Linked DNA regions of Homo sapiens: region 2 is linked to region 1. Evidence: promoter capture Hi-C in human tissues and cell types (Jung and others, 2019). All regions are on one chromosome and are shown on one strand. The core of a region is centred on a gene start or on the middle of the fragment in contact, and the rest is flanking DNA. Distances in the headings are between cores, read along the strand shown.

Region 1 (2,909 bases), core at 306-2,805:
ATCTTCTTGGAAAGAAATCAAAGCACAGACTGCTTCAAGTGAGCTACTCTTCAACATCTTTTTGCCATATTTTAAAGCTTTCCATAGAATAGTAAATGAGGCATTTAAAGACCATTGGACACTGACCTTGTTTTAGTATAGTTAAGGTATTATATTTTGGACCATTCAGAACGGTCAAATTAAGATGCCAAATTACCTTTCCATAAAAAGTAATATAGGTTTCATACAGTTGGTTTCCTCATAAAATTACCAGTAACAGCAGCCTATAAGCAGCAACTAGTTTTTCATATTTCAGAATTACTTCATTATATTCCTTGCCAACAAACTTCCCAGGCCAGAGAAACAACGGAACATGTGGAAACATGTTTCCATGACATAACGCCGCTCCTCCTAAGCCTTTCATTAAGCGTTCATAATAGAATCACTCCACAGTCATGTTTATACGGGACAGCTGCCCCCGACTCCGGCAATTCACTCTGCAGAAACACGCTTTTGGTCCGACCCAACCCCGCCGCATTCCAGCAACTGACGTAGTTACCAATGCACAAGGCCAGTGACTCCCATCCCGAGGCTCTCCCTATCAATGCACCATTGACCTGGCCCTGTAAACCGGCTCCATTACCTGCAGTTCTCAAGGGCACTGGGTTTTGTAAAACCCCACATGCCTCACTCCCCGCCCTTAAAAAAAAAAAAAAGGCTTTCGGGGCCAGATGAACCTGCAATTCATCTCTGACGTGTGCAGCCGAAGCTGACTTTTTACTTTTCTGAGAAAAAGCTGTCACCCAGAGGGACGGGGAAAGGAAGGAGGGCAGCTGGCGCGGGGCCGATAATCCCACGTAAACCTCGTTAGAGGCAACCGGAGATCTTTCTCAATATTCCGGACGCCAGGGGCTGTCCCACAGCAACCTCTTCCTCGCAAGCAAAAGAGGCGTTGGGGGACAGCGGCACGAGGCAGGGGACGTGCGTAGGTACAGAAAAGAGAGCTGCGCAAACTAGTGCGGTCCCTCGTCCTTGAAGGAAAAGAAGCTTTGCGGGGCGAGGAAGTCCGACTGCCACCCGGCGGTCTCTAGGGACTGCGGTTGACGGGTTGCACCTGTCATCTCGGGGTTCGGCGCACGTTAGGGGAAAATCCGAGGAAGCGAGCAGACAGGACAAACGTTAAGGACGGGAGAGAAAAACGTTTCTTAGGGTCGAGGTGATGCTCAGCAGAGGCACTTACGGGGTACACCTGTCGCTGTACTCATTGGCGATGGTCTCGATGCCGCCACTTCTCGCGACAGCAATGTAGCAGTTGAGAAAGCCGAGGTCAATGCCAACCACAGACATCCCGCCGCGTGATGGTCGGGCTGCTGGTACTGAACCCTTCGGTACGGGAACCGTGTCCTCTTCTGGGCTATTGCTGCTGGGATTGCGACTCCTACCAGAAGCAAACGAGAGGGGACCCCAAGTCGCTAAGCAGAAAATCTAGGGCAGGGAGTCGGAAACCCGCGGAAGGAGCAGAGGCCGTCAGCGCCGCAGCCTGCACCGCGTCCCGCAGCCTGGGTCTTTCCCTACTGCGGTTCGGCCGCCTCCAACCGGCGGTTACTGGGACCTGCGCCTGCGCGCTCGGCTGCCCGGGAGGCGCGCGAGCCTCCGCTCCGCGCCCGAGCCAGCTCCGGGCCCGGACTTCGGCCGCTTCCGTCAGCACTCGGGCAACGGCTGCCCAAGAAGCTGCGGGTTCGAGAAAGATCTGGAAAATGGAGGCTGCTGAGCTATCCGGGGGCGGGAGAAGCGGGAAGGCGGGGCGGGGAGGATCGGGGAAAGGAGGCTAGGCACATTGGCTTGCTCGCCCTCGCTCGGCAGTAGGACGTCGGGCGGTCGGGCTAGGTGAGAGGCAGGCGACCGGCCGGCCCGGGGCTTTGCGAACGTGTTTTGAGGCACATTTTTGGGTTGTTTTGGCAACCGGAGGCGTGCTTGTCACGGCGGCAGGATGCTGTCCTGGCTGGCGGGCGCCGCCCCCTCACCCCCTGCCCTCAGAAGGGCTCGCCCGCAGGCCTCGCCTCCCCGAGGGGCCCATGTGCAGCCCGGCGCCCTCCCCTTGTGGCTGGAGGCCCGCCGCGCCCGGCTCTGTGAGGTGGCGCGCATTGTCCGACGTCCGCCGCTCCGCCCTGTCCAGCCCCGGGGGAGCTGCCGAGCCCGGGACAGACTCTTGTGCGAAAGCGGGATGAGCACATGTTAGGTTTTTTTCTTTTTTCATCAGCAGGATTTGAAATATCAAAAGTCAAACTTCTGTCAAGAAATAAGATCACACTGACAACTTTCCCTCCACGTACCTTTCCTCACACCTTTCTAAAAGATGCTGGCCCCGCCGCTGACCCTTGTCTCTGGAAACCAGTTTTACAGGAAAGTGACCTTAATTAAGTGTGCCACTCACACCAGCCAAGTCTGTGCTTTAGCCTCCAGCCGCTGCCCTGTGGTCCTCAAAAAAGAGCCCAGTGTGGTCCAGCGCCCTCCCTCTTGGTTTGATCGGCATGTGTTGCCTGTCTGTAATTAACCAAGTTTTATGTTACACTTAAGAAATTTGGCTGTCTTGTTGCTTTTCGTTCACTTTTACGTGTGTGCCCTGTTCCTTCTCTGCCAGTCCTTGGTCTGTTCCCTGTTCCTCCCCGTCCTCTTCATCTAGTCTCTGTTCCTTCTCATCCAATTCTTTGTGTGTTTTCCTGTTCCATTTTGGTATCCATCTTGAAAACAGGCGTGTTTTTTTGTTTGTTTGTTTTGTTTACTAGATTCTTTAGTATTCTGATTATCCCTAGTTGTCCACTTCTTTAAATAACTTAGATTTTTTACTATTAATAATGTTGCTACAGCAGCAGCAGCAGCAAGGGTGGCTATAGTTCCTGCTGCTGTTAGAATGAACGTGAAATCCATTT
Region 2 (3,251 bases), core at 752-3,251, 270 kb before region 1:
TATTGCCTTTTTTTCCCCTTAAAGTTGTTCAACAATACTACAAAATAGCTTGTGGTTTTTAAAATGCAATCAGCCGCCAGGCGTGGTGGCTCACACCTGTAATCCCAGCACTTTGGGAGGCCGAGGTGGGCGGATCACCTGAGGTTGGGAGTTCGAGACCACCCTGACCAACGTGGAGAAACCCCGTCTCTACTAAAAATACAAAATTAGCTGGGTGTGGTGGCCTGTAATCCCAGCTGCTCAGGAGGCTGAGGCAGAAGAATCGCTTGAACCCAGGAGGCAGAGGTTGCAGTGAGCCGCAGATGGCGCCATTGCACTCCAACCTGGGCAACAAGAGCGAAACTCCGTCTCAAAAAAAAAAAAATGCAATTAGCTTATGCATATGGTAACACCAAATGGTACAATATTGTTTATAATGAAAATAAAAAAACAGTTCTACTTCACAAAGGTACTAATCCCCAAAGTTACCATCTTTCAACTTTTGCCTTGCCACTATAAAACATGAGGATTTAACACACTTACATAAGCCCCTGCTCGATTCTCCTCCCAATTTCTGATATTTTTGTTGTTTACTTGGAAATTTTAAATAATTTAAGTAATTTGAACATTTACTTAGTATTTCACCAATTTTAGAAAGAGCTTCTTATATTGCCACTCTATAAAATGAGAATATATCATCCTACCCTTTGTTCTACCTTCCAACGGTTGTCTGCTTTTCTTTATTTTTACATTCAACCCTCTTATTAGAACTCCCATGTGTCCCCCACCAACACACACCATTTTTTTTTTTTTTTTCGAGACAAGATCTCACTCTTTTGTTCAGGCTATAGTGTAGTGCTGCGATCACGGCTCACTGCAGCCTTGACCTCCCAGGTTCAAGAGATCCTCCCACCTCAGCCACTCAAGTAGCTGGGACCAGAGGCATGAGCTGCCAAGCCTGGCAAATTTTTTTTTTTTGAGACGAAATCTCACTTTGTTACCAGGCTGGAATGCAATGATGCAATCTCGGCTCACTGCAACCTCCACCTCCCAGGTTCAAGCAATTCTCCTGCCTCAGCCTCCTAAGTAGCTGGGATTACAGGCACATGCCACCATGCCCAGCTAATTTTTGTATTTTTTTTTTAGTAGAGACGGGGTTTCACCATGTTGGCCAGCGTGGTCTCGATCTCTTGACCTCGTGATCCACCTGCCTCAGCCTCCCAAAGTGCTGGGATTACAGGCGTGAGCCACTGTGCCCGGCCGTGGCAAATTTTTTATTTGTTTCAATTTTTGTAGCGATGAGGTGTCCGTTGCCCAGGCTTGTCTTGGACTCCTGGGCTCAAGCTATACTCCTGCCTTGGCCTCCTCAAATTTCTTGCTTTTCTTTATGGTTTGTCACTAAACATGCATCCCATAGTTTTGCCTATTTTTAAAACTATATGTAGATGGAATCATATGCTACTTTCCGTCTTGCTTCTTTCATTCAATATTATGTTTTTAAGATTCATACAAGTTGAGAGTAGCTGTAGGTCATTTATTCTGTTATAGTATGTGTATTTCATTGAATGACTATATCACAATTTTTTATGCTATTGTTGATGAATTTTTCGGCTTCCAATTTGGGACTACTGTAAACATGGCTTTTATGAACATTTTTTTTTCTGGTGTGCATGTGCCAATTTATTGAGGGTATCATTTTAGGAATAGAATTTCTGAGTCATAGGATCTGCATATCTTCATTTGTTCCAAATATTGCCAAGTCATTTTCCAAACTCTTGTACCAATTCACACACCCACTGGCAGCGTATGAGAGGTCTCCACATCCTGGACATTTCTTCCTTTTCCTTACATTGTCAGGAGTAATCACTTATACTCTATTGAGTAACCATAATATACCTTTGTGCTTTGTTCATAGATTGGTCTGAAAATTTAAGAATCCACAAACAGCTTTATGTTATTTTGAGTTTATAGCTATCTCTTACTGCAGAACAATGTAGTATGAGAGGACTGCATTCCCTTCTCTGTGGTTTCAGTGTCATGATCCCCTAGAAATAAGATCAAATGGGGCTGAGCACGGTGGCTCACACCTGTAATCCTAGCACTTTGGGAGGCCGAGGCGGGCGGATCACCTGAGGTCAGGAGTTCGAGACCAACCTGGCCAACATGGTGAAACCCCGTCTCTACTAAAAAATGCAAAAATTAGCTGGGTGTGGTGGTGGGTGCTTGTAATCCCAGCTACTCCGGAGGCTGAAACAGGAGAATCACACGAACCCAGGAGGCAGAGGTTGCAGTGAGCTGGGATCACGCCCCTACACTCCTAGGGAACAGGGCGAGACTCTGTCACACACACAAAAAAGAAAAAAACTATTGATAACAAAATAGGTTTACTTGTGCTTAGGTAATTTGGCAGACATCTTCTAAAAAATGAATGAAATGAGCCTGTCACATCAGTGGCAACAACTAGACAATATTTGTTGTCAGTGATAACCTTCAAGTTTTCAAGAGAAAATGAGAAGCTTGGAAAACTTTTAACCATTACCATGAACTCAACAGCTTCCTAGTGCTTAAAGATTTTCTGATGAGCTCAGTAGTGATTTTAATGAACCTAATTTTTGATGTTGTGTAATGAAATGTGTCAACATTTTGGAGGTCTGCATAACTCAGTGACCCAATATTTTTCTAATTACAAAATCATACATAGGGAACATGAAGGGTAAGAAGACTACTGGCTTTTTTTCTGACTTACAATGTTTTTATTACTATATGTCACATATATGAACAACCATATTTATTACTATATAACTGATTCCAATCATAAGCACTAGTAAAAATATACTACTTAGAAAACAATTCAAGGTCATATAGATTGTCTGGATCAGGCCTTGGCAAACTATGGCCCATGGGCCAAATCTGTCTACCACCTTTTTTTTTTTTTTTTTTGAGATAGAGTCTCACACTGTTGCCCGAGCTGGAGTGCAGTGGCGCGATCTCGGCTCACTGCAACCTCCGCCTCCCAGGTTGAAGCAATTCTCCTGCCTCAGCCTCCCAAGTAGCTGGGATTATAGGCATGTGTCACCACGCCCAGCTAATTTCTGTATTTTTAGTAGAGAAGGGGTTTCACTATGTTGGTCAGTTTGGTCTCGAACGCCTGACCTCGTGATCCACCCACCTCGGCCTCCCAAAGTGCTGGGAATACAGACGTGAGCCACTGCGCCCAGCCTACCACCTATTTTTATACAGGAACAAACTAAGAATGAATTTTACTTTTTTTA

Evidence for each region. The method cuts DNA at HindIII sites, captures the fragments that hold promoters and counts their contacts. A contact is called where the count stands out against the background at its distance.
Region 2: a fragment that was not itself captured here is called in contact with the fragment with the promoter of HSPA4L in region 1 in 1 of the 25 tissues and cell types used here (lymphoblastoid cells).

What each region holds. Positions count from the first base shown.
Region 1 is chr4:127,780,968-127,783,876 of GRCh38, reverse strand. It overlaps HSPA4L (heat shock protein family A (Hsp70) member 4 like), which reads right to left and starts at 1,555. Exons shown (of 19, transcript NM_014278.4): 1 at 1,220-1,555. The coding sequence starts at 1,326. RefSeq lists enhancers at 805-884, 493-1,485, 1,385-1,534 and silencers at 1,675-1,744, 2,025-2,194. The HindIII fragment of the contact is 5,760 bases long and covers 553-2,909 here.
Region 2 is chr4:128,048,474-128,051,724 of GRCh38, reverse strand. No RefSeq gene overlaps it. Among named protein-coding and RNA genes, the nearest start is that of LARP1B, 11 kb to the left of the region's middle. The HindIII fragment of the contact is 3,104 bases long and covers 450-3,251 here.